Regions from separate parts of the Homo sapiens genome. Here all the other regions are linked to region 2. The links are contacts of gene promoters, found by promoter capture Hi-C in blood cells and fetal thymus (Javierre and others, 2016). All regions are on one chromosome and are shown on one strand. The core of a region is centred on a gene start or on the middle of the fragment in contact, and the rest is flanking DNA. Distances in the headings are between cores, read along the strand shown.

What was found. The method cuts DNA at HindIII sites, captures the fragments that hold promoters and counts their contacts. A CHiCAGO score of 5 or more calls a contact.
Region 1: a contact is called between a fragment that was not itself captured here and the fragment with the promoter of SLC38A2 in region 2, in 1 of 17 cell types (naive CD8 T cells). The highest score is 5.0, in naive CD8 T cells.
Region 3: a fragment that was not itself captured here is called in contact with the fragment with the promoter of SLC38A2 in region 2 in 15 of 17 cell types (megakaryocytes, M0 macrophages, M2 macrophages and 12 more); the score reaches 14.5 in megakaryocytes.

Annotation. Positions count from the first base shown.
Region 1 is chr12:46,627,507-46,630,206 of GRCh38, reverse strand. All of the region lies in intron 3 of SLC38A4-AS1 (SLC38A4 antisense RNA 1), which reads right to left. Among named protein-coding and RNA genes, the nearest start is that of SLC38A4, 200 kb to the left of the region's middle. The HindIII fragment of the contact is 3,527 bases long and covers 1-2,700 here.
Region 2 is chr12:46,371,409-46,374,108 of GRCh38, reverse strand. It overlaps SLC38A2 (solute carrier family 38 member 2), which reads left to right and starts at 1,336. Exons shown (of 16, transcript NM_018976.5): 1 at 1,336-1,600. SLC38A2-AS1 (SLC38A2 antisense RNA 1) reads right to left here and starts at 1,326. Exons shown (of 2, transcript NR_187299.1): 1 at 1,247-1,326; 2 at 331-796. RefSeq lists enhancers at 777-836, 1,517-1,596, 1,454-2,157, 1,847-2,176, 2,257-2,406 and silencers at 1,087-1,426, 1,627-1,826. The HindIII fragment of the contact is 15,961 bases long and covers 1-2,700 here.
Region 3 is chr12:46,652,348-46,655,047 of GRCh38, reverse strand. It overlaps SLC38A4-AS1 (SLC38A4 antisense RNA 1), which reads right to left. Exons shown (of 4, transcript NR_125380.1): 4 at 2,469-2,658. Among named protein-coding and RNA genes, the nearest start is that of SLC38A4, 170 kb to the left of the region's middle. The HindIII fragment of the contact is 7,316 bases long and covers 1-2,700 here.

The DNA.
Region 1 (2,700 bases), core at 180-2,679, 260 kb before region 2:
AACTCCAAATGTCTTACATTTCTTCTTCTATTTCATCCTAAGAATTACCCAGTCATTTTCATCAGGCTTCCATTCCAGGACTCCTCCTGTAGCCCAATGTTGCAAACAGGTGCAGTCAGCAAGGGTGCCAAGTGACAGGAGCCAATCCTGGAAATCAGAGTTAGAGAATCTCTCTCTCTCGCTCTCTCTCTCTCACACACACACACACACACATATGTACACACACACATGATACCCAAGCTAACCACAGTTATCAGAATCACTGAGTTGTGAAAATAGTTCATTTTGCAATCACTATGTTAATTAGTTAATCATTGCAAAGATTAGCGATGGTGACAACCTTTGGTTTGTGCTCCTTTAAACTAGTTAACTATGGAATGGAAAATCAAAATCACAGCTGAAAATGTCAGAGAGAGTTGCCTGTTTTCTTCACAAACACAGAGCCATAGACACTTCAACAACAAATGATTCCAGTGGGGCAATAGAGAAATGAAAGGCAGGATCACACGAGATTGGCTTCTGAGGTACCCACCTCTCCCATGGGGGCCTTAACTCTGATTTCTTATTCAGTGGGCCTGGGGATTTGGTTCAATCTCTTAGTTACACGGATGAGGTTATACAGATGAGAAGAGATCCATGCAGCACACACATCCTGGGAGCCTACAGAGCCAGTGCTTCTGAAACAGTGAGGAAATCAGGGGTTGCTCAGCAGACAGTTTGGGAGGAAGCAGGAAGCCAGGAACACTGAGTCTTATTCATTTTCTTTAATGCAAGGTAGTAGAGCACATAACAGGGCAGGAGTTCTCCAAGTGTGGACCCCAGACAGGACCAGCAGCATCAGCATCACCCTCAAATGTGTTAGAAGAGCAAATTCTTGGATCCTACTCTGGATCTATTGAATCACAAATTCTGGAGTTGGAATGCAGAAATCTATGTTTAAACAAACTCTTCAGATGTTTTTGATGCATTCCAATGTTTGAGAACCCTGCAACAGGAGATAGTCAGTAATCATTTGTATTGCCTTTTGAGAAAGCTCAACTTGCTTCTAGATATGGGTGGACCTAGATCTGGAAACTCACTGAAGACCTCACTGCCAATAGACTGTGAAGGTCATAGTGAGAATTTGAGAATTCCTATCTCTTTCCTATCCAGAGTAACTGATCAGTTCTCACAGTTTCCAGGAATGGACATCCCGCTGAGTTCCCTCCATTAGGACCTGCTGTGGGACAAAGTTGCCTACATCATTATCATCATCACCATCACCACCAGCATCATCATCATCACTGCCAACATTTACACAGTGGTTGCTATTTGCCAAGCACAATTATTAGAACTTTATAAATATTTATCCACTTAATCTTCACACACACACACACACATCATGAGGTTGTACTATATTTGTATTCTCCCCATTATACAGATGAGGGGACTGAAACAAAGAAAGATTAAGTGATCCTTCAATAATTTCACCACCCCTAAGGGTCAGAACAGGGTTTTGAACCCAAGTAAACTGCCTCCTGAACTCTATTCATGAACTCTGCACAAGAAAGGCAACCTAGATAGTGGTTGAGACCTCCTGATTTGGAGCCAGGATATCTGGATTTTAGTCTGGCGGCAGCACTTACTATTATCGGTCATCTATTAATTGTCTGGCCTCTAGTCTCACCCTTTCCTAAAAATCCATCTTCCAAATGCTAAAATAATTATCTCTCATATGCAAATATGTTCTTGCCATTATCCTTCTTAAAATTTTTCCATTACTCATGTTCCCTGTAAGATAAAATCTAAACATACTTTGCCATTAAAAAGGAGTAACTGCCCACTCATCCTGCTTCATCTTCTACCATTCTTTCCCACATGCTAAGCCTCAGCCATCCCAAACACCTCACTATTCCTTGAATAAGCCAGCCCATAATTCCTAGAAGGAAATTTCCTATCATCCAAAGTTTCTCTCACTTGGAAAATTCCTAGTTACTTTTAGTTTTGGCTAACCACTGCTTTCTCTGGGGAAGCCTTCCCTGGGTGCCCCCTATACAGGCATACAGCATTCTTTTCTTTCTGCTTTCATTAGTCATATCTCCTTCATCACAGTGGCCCTGATATTGCATTGGAATTACCTGCCTATCTCTCCTGCACCTATGAGTCTTCGAGAGCAGAAACTGTCATTTCATCTTCATCATAGCCCCAGTGCATATCGTAAGTGCAAATAAATATTGGTTAAATGAATGAATGAAGTTAATAAGACCAGTGCACCCTCTCACTGCAGGGAAGGCAAAAGACAAGGTTAAAGGATAACTAGAGAGACAAATGAAGTAGTAATGAAGTGATACTAGTTGGTGTGAGATAATGCTCCAGGAATCCAATGTAGAAACAATGAAGCAGTCTTAAGCACATGGTTGAACTTGATATGCTTCATTTCCTCACATGACATCACTCAGATAGCTTCAATTGGGCATCCAATCTTAGGAATCATTTAGCGGAAAATATCTTTACCTATCCAAAGATTTTTTTTTAGTAACTGGCACAAAATTTTGAAAGTCCCAATAGGATTTTCCTATCATGGCTGTGGAAAGGGGTTCTCCTGATGGATGTTTAGCTCAAAGCTGCAGTGATGAGAGGGCTCACCCCAAAAATGACCATTCACAAAGGCCACATGGAGGAATAAGTGGCAGCAATGGCTGTCATGAAAGAAAAGATCTG
Region 2 (2,700 bases), core at 87-2,586:
ATGAGAGGAGATTGGACACCAAAGCAAGAATGGCTATTATTTAAGACTGGCCTGAACAGAGTAGAAGGTTTGCGGTAGGGAAGACTGGCCTGAACAGAGTAGAAGGTTTGGGGTAGGGAACACAGGAGTGTGATGGGGGAAATCGGGACCTCGCTTGTCAATCATAAACACTGGTGCAGGCGAGGGCACCCGAAGCCTCACGTGCGGCGGAAATAGGCAGTTGTACGGATTTCCTCAGTAAAACATTGAAAGCAAAAACTGCGATCACACCCAGCCCTTTCCTCTATGCCCTGCCCAATTTCTCCCAAGTCCCCAAAAGGAAGAGAGCAGTAGGTCAAACTTGTTTATTCATTCATTCCATGAACATTTCTCTCTCCTAAGGGGTCTTTGTTTCCTGCAAGGGAGTGAGTCTTGCCTTTCCCGCAGCACCAATTTTTCCACAGCGAAGGGTCCCCCTAGTTGCCTGGCTCAGCAAGACCACACACATCACCATTGAAGGGAAAGGACCAGGCTCCGCAGAAAGCGCCTCAGACCCGCATTCAGACAAGGCAGTGCCTTTGCCCGGGGCGGCGGTGGTGGGATAAGAGAAGCAACGTGTCAGCGAGTGGAAAACTGGGGACTCCCAAACGGCCTTAGGAGCGCCGGGCTCCCCACTGGGGCCTCTTTCTAAGGGGCCTGGCTTGCTGGCCAAAAGGTAGCCTTTCCGCTAGTCCAGTTTCCATGGCCGTACAAAAAGCACATCCCGAAAAGGAGCTGCTCGCCGACCTCCGGCTAGTTTTGAAGAGTGAAAGCAGGTCTAGGTGGAAAAGAAAGAACAACAAACCATCAGGACAACCTTGCTGCCTTGGCCCAAGTTTGTGAGACAAAACTTCACTGTAAATCACAAAAATAACAATCAAGAAAGTGTTTGGTGGGAGGGTGGTGTCCCCCAAAAGCCTTGATGTGTCCCCCGAAAGCAAGGACTGCTGGTGACTCGGACAGGAGAAAATTTTAAGGAGATGGCTCCTCAAAGACAACCGCATGTGTTGAGCACCAACCCTGGCTGAAAAGGATAGGCAGGGGAAGCATCTGGGGGTCTTTCCAGACTATCTAGAAAGCTGGAGAGAGTGGGCTTGGGCTTTGCGGGAGAGTCTTGGGGGCGCCTGCGGGCGGGGCTGGGCCGCGGGCGCGGGCCGCAGAGGGAGGGGCAGGGAGGCGGGGCCTAGGTCTGGGCGGGTCGGAGGCGGGGCCCAGGTGGTGTTGATACACAAAGAGAAGGCGCCCGGGCGGCCGCGGTCCCGCCCACTGACGCGTCCCCGGGGTGCCGCTATAACCCGCCGCTCGCAGGGCTGCTCCACAGCCGCGCGACGCCGCCGCCTTAGAACGCCTTTCCAGTACTGCTAGCAGCAGCCCGACCACGCGTTACCGCACGCTCGCGCCTTTCCCTTGACACGGCGGACGCCGGAGGATTGGGGCGGCAATTTGTCTTTTCCTTTTTTATTAAAATTATTTTTCCTGCCTGTTGTTGGATTTGGGGAAATTTTTTGTTTGTTTTTTATGATTTGTATTTGACTGAGAGAAACCCACTGAAGACGTCTGCGTGAGAATAGAGACCACCGAGGTAACGCGTGCGGGGGGGCGTCTGTGGGAAGGGCGCGGGGCCCGGGCGAGAGTGGGGGAGGGGCTTCCGGGAGGGGCCGCGCGGGAAGGCGGCCGCGGGGTCCGTTTCCTTTCGAGGCGGGCGTTGTCGGTTGGGCTGGCCAGCCTTCCACCCTGGCCCGCCGCGCGGGTGTCGCGCCCGCGACGTGGGTAGGAGAGCGGGCGCTGGGCGGGGGCCGCGTGCCTGCACGGTGCGGAGCCGCATCTTCCCATTAGGGGGAGGGGAGCTAGCCCGGCCAGCGGCTCTGCTGCGGCAAGTCTTGTGACTGATTTGCATTTAATAAAAAAAAAAAATTAAGTCCAGGGAGCCAGGAATCTGGGGGCGGCGGAGGTGGGCTTGGGCATGTATTACAGGAGAGGCCAAGATTGGGGAAGACGAGTTGGGAACATTTGACAATCGACGATCGATATTGCATCAGTTTTCTTTCCGGACATAGGAGGGGCTGGGCGGGCGTAGCACTCGCGGGCCAGCTGCCTGTGGACGGGTGTGCTTGAGGGCACTGGCGCGCGTGTGTAAACAAACCCCCAGCTCCCGGGGCCCGGGCGTTCGCCCCCCTCGAGAGAGGAGTAGTGTCGGCCCTTTCCGCCTCCTGGGGAAGGCTGTCTGCGGCAGAGGCATTTCTCCGTGTGGGGACTCCGGGCAGTAAAGGACAGATTACGCAGCATTGCTGTTCCAAATGCTAGAAACGGAAAGCCGTGCGCCTAGGTTGCATGCACACGAGCCAGGGTCGGGGCTGGATGTGTGCCCTGAGTGCCTGTGCAAGTTTGGAGCGACTGGGAAAAAGCAAAACAGAACCCCCCCTCGCCCCCTCCACTCCGACGAGGGACAATAGAGAGGGTGAAATACTGAAATCTGCCGGAGTAGGGGGCCTCGACGGCCGCAACACAGCGGTGGCATCATCTTTGTTCTCCCCGCGGCTCCGCCGTCTGTACTTTTCCGCCCCTCGGCGCGCCCCCGCCCCTCGCGCGCGGCTGGTACTTTTCCACTCGCCTGGCCTGGGATGAATCAGCCGCGCTGCGCCTCCGGGCGGCGTCACGTGACCGCGGCGGGCTGGCGCTGCG
Region 3 (2,700 bases), core at 152-2,651, 280 kb before region 2:
GCACAAAGCAAACCAGAGAGTCTGAAATACCATGGAGATTATACTGTAATGGAAGTGTTAGATGTCATTTAGTTGCCTGTCTTGGGTCCCTTTTACATGGCCAACACTTCTGCTCCCAGTTTCTATGCATGTTGGCTCCCATCTGTCCCATTCGAAAGAGAATTGACCTCAGTGCAAGGGCATTGCCTCAGCCAGGAAGTCGCAATGCCCCGAACTCAGCACACAGCCAACGACTGAAAGGAGGGTACAAAGAGTGGGCCTCTTGCTTCCAGATGCAATTAGTGCACCGGAAAAATTCTTTCTCATGGCTAGACCTCCCTGGAAGCACACCCTTGCCCGGCTGCTTCACTCACACTATCCTGCATCATTCCCTCCCTTTACAGGTTTTCCTGAAGAGCATTCCCTCAATATGCACCTGAATTCTTCTCTCAGGTTCTGTTTCTAGGAAATCCAACCTAAGACAGAAGGAAAGACAACAATAAGCCAGCAAACGTGTAAAGGTATATACCATGTTAGATGGAGATTATGGCTTTGGAGAATAATAAAGCAGGAGAAAAGGGAAGGAGTATTTTGGGGAGATAGAGTTCTCATTGAAAAAAAGTGGCCAGAGAAAGTTTTCCCAATAAGGTAGTATCAGTAGGATCTAAGGAAAGTGAAGGTGCAAGCAGTGTGGAAGTCAGGGGGATGGACATCCCAGCCAGAGGAACCTCAAATGCTAAAGAGCGAGAGGGAGGCTGCTGCAGCTGGAATAAGTAGCCAGGTGGATGGAGGTGGGCGGGGTGTGGTCATAAGTAGACGGTTGGATGATGGTATTGAAAAGGAGGGTCTTGGCCGGGCGCAGTGACTCACACCTGTAATCCCAGCACTTTGGGAGGCCAAGGTGGGCAGATCACAAGGCCAGGAGTTCCAGACCAGCCTGACCAACATGGTGAAACTCTGTCTGTACTAAAAATACAAAAAAAAAAAAAAAAAAAAAAATTAGTAGGGCGTGGTGGTGCGCGCCTGTAATCCCAGCTACTCAGGAGGCTGAGGCAGGAGAATCATTTGAATCTGGGAGGCAGAGGTTGCAATGACCCGAGATTGCGCCATTACACTCCAGCCTGGGTGACAGAGCGAGACTCTGTCTCAAAAGGAAAAAAAAAAAGGAAAAAAAAGGGTCTCCTTCTTCCTGCTGCAAAGTGATTGAAGTACCAGAACATTAAAACAAGAGCAAGAACTGGATATGAAAAAAGTCATCTCATAAAGACTGAGTATCTTGTAGAGACAGTGTAGATGAGAAAGTGTATATGTGAACTTTATGATTTTTTAAGGGTATAAAACTTCTTAGTAGAAATTGACAGATAGAGGAGGATAGTAGTACAGTTCTCTATTTCCTTTCCATATTTTTTCATGAAGGCTTTCCCCTGCATCTTTTATGCACATCCCTCTTTCCATGTGTCTTCTGTCCATCCTAATTTACATGTGACTTCCTTGTATCAATTTTGAATTATTATTCTGTGAGTTCATACATTAATTTGGTCACTTTGGTAATATTAATGTAAACTATTGCACAGCCATATTTATTGGAAGGAACTGAATTATACATTTTTCTTCCCTTTCCTCCCCTCCCCTCCCCTTTCCTCCTTTTCCTCGCCTCCTCCTTTTTTTCTTCTCTTTCCTCTTCTATTCTTCTCTTTTACTCTTCTCTTGCATGTGGGAGGTAGCTGCTTTCATAAACCAATATACATTCGTGCTGCACTAGCCTGGTGATTGCCGGTCCCTCTCTGCTGGGTGCCTGATGCCAGGCTGGAGAGTAGCTACCACCCAACTGACAGACTGAAAAGCAAACTAGAACCTACAGAGTGATGCCCCAAAATATATATTAGCTACAGTCTGGGGTTGCTTTGCTTATCATTGCTCTATGATATAGACAGAATTCTTTTCTACCTCTCTTTGGATAATAGCACTCACGTGAAGAGACAGGTGCCCTCCTGTAGATTACACAGCATATATGTCACACTTCTAATAATAACAATGGTCAAAAGGGTGATTTTTCTTCATGCTTGGCACTGTGCTGAACAATTTAGATGTATTATCTCATTGAATCTTTACAATCTGTGAGGTGGGTATTATAATTCCCATTTTATAGATGAGAAAACTGAGGCACTGAGGTAAAATTACTTCCCCAGGGTCACTCATCTATTAAATGGCACATTTGGGAATGCATCTAAGATTGAATGAGACCAGAACTGAAGCTCTTGAACTCCACTACACCACTTCCCTAGTTACAGTAATTCACATTGTTTTTTTTGCTTCCATTTCCATCTACCCACCTCCCACCATTGCTCTATGAATTTCCTGAGAATAGAGACTGTATTTATTCACCTGTGTCTGCCAAGCACATGGTTAGGAGTCCGATAAAGTAAACAATTGTTTTCCCCACCTGAATTCTAAACCAAATGAGGGACAAGATGAAAGAGTAAGACAGATATTGATTAAAATATCAGCTTTATTACCAAGGATGACTGTGCTGCAGGAGGCGGCTCAGTGTGAAGAACTACGGGTTTCCTGATGTTGAAGCTCAGAATTAGCCACACTGACCTTCTCAGTCATGCATGATGCCAGGAAAATCACAGGCTTCCATTCTACAGTGAAGGGCTTGGAGGAGCAGGCAATAATCTGTGGAAAGAGGAAGGGGCTGAGACACACCTGGCTGACCAG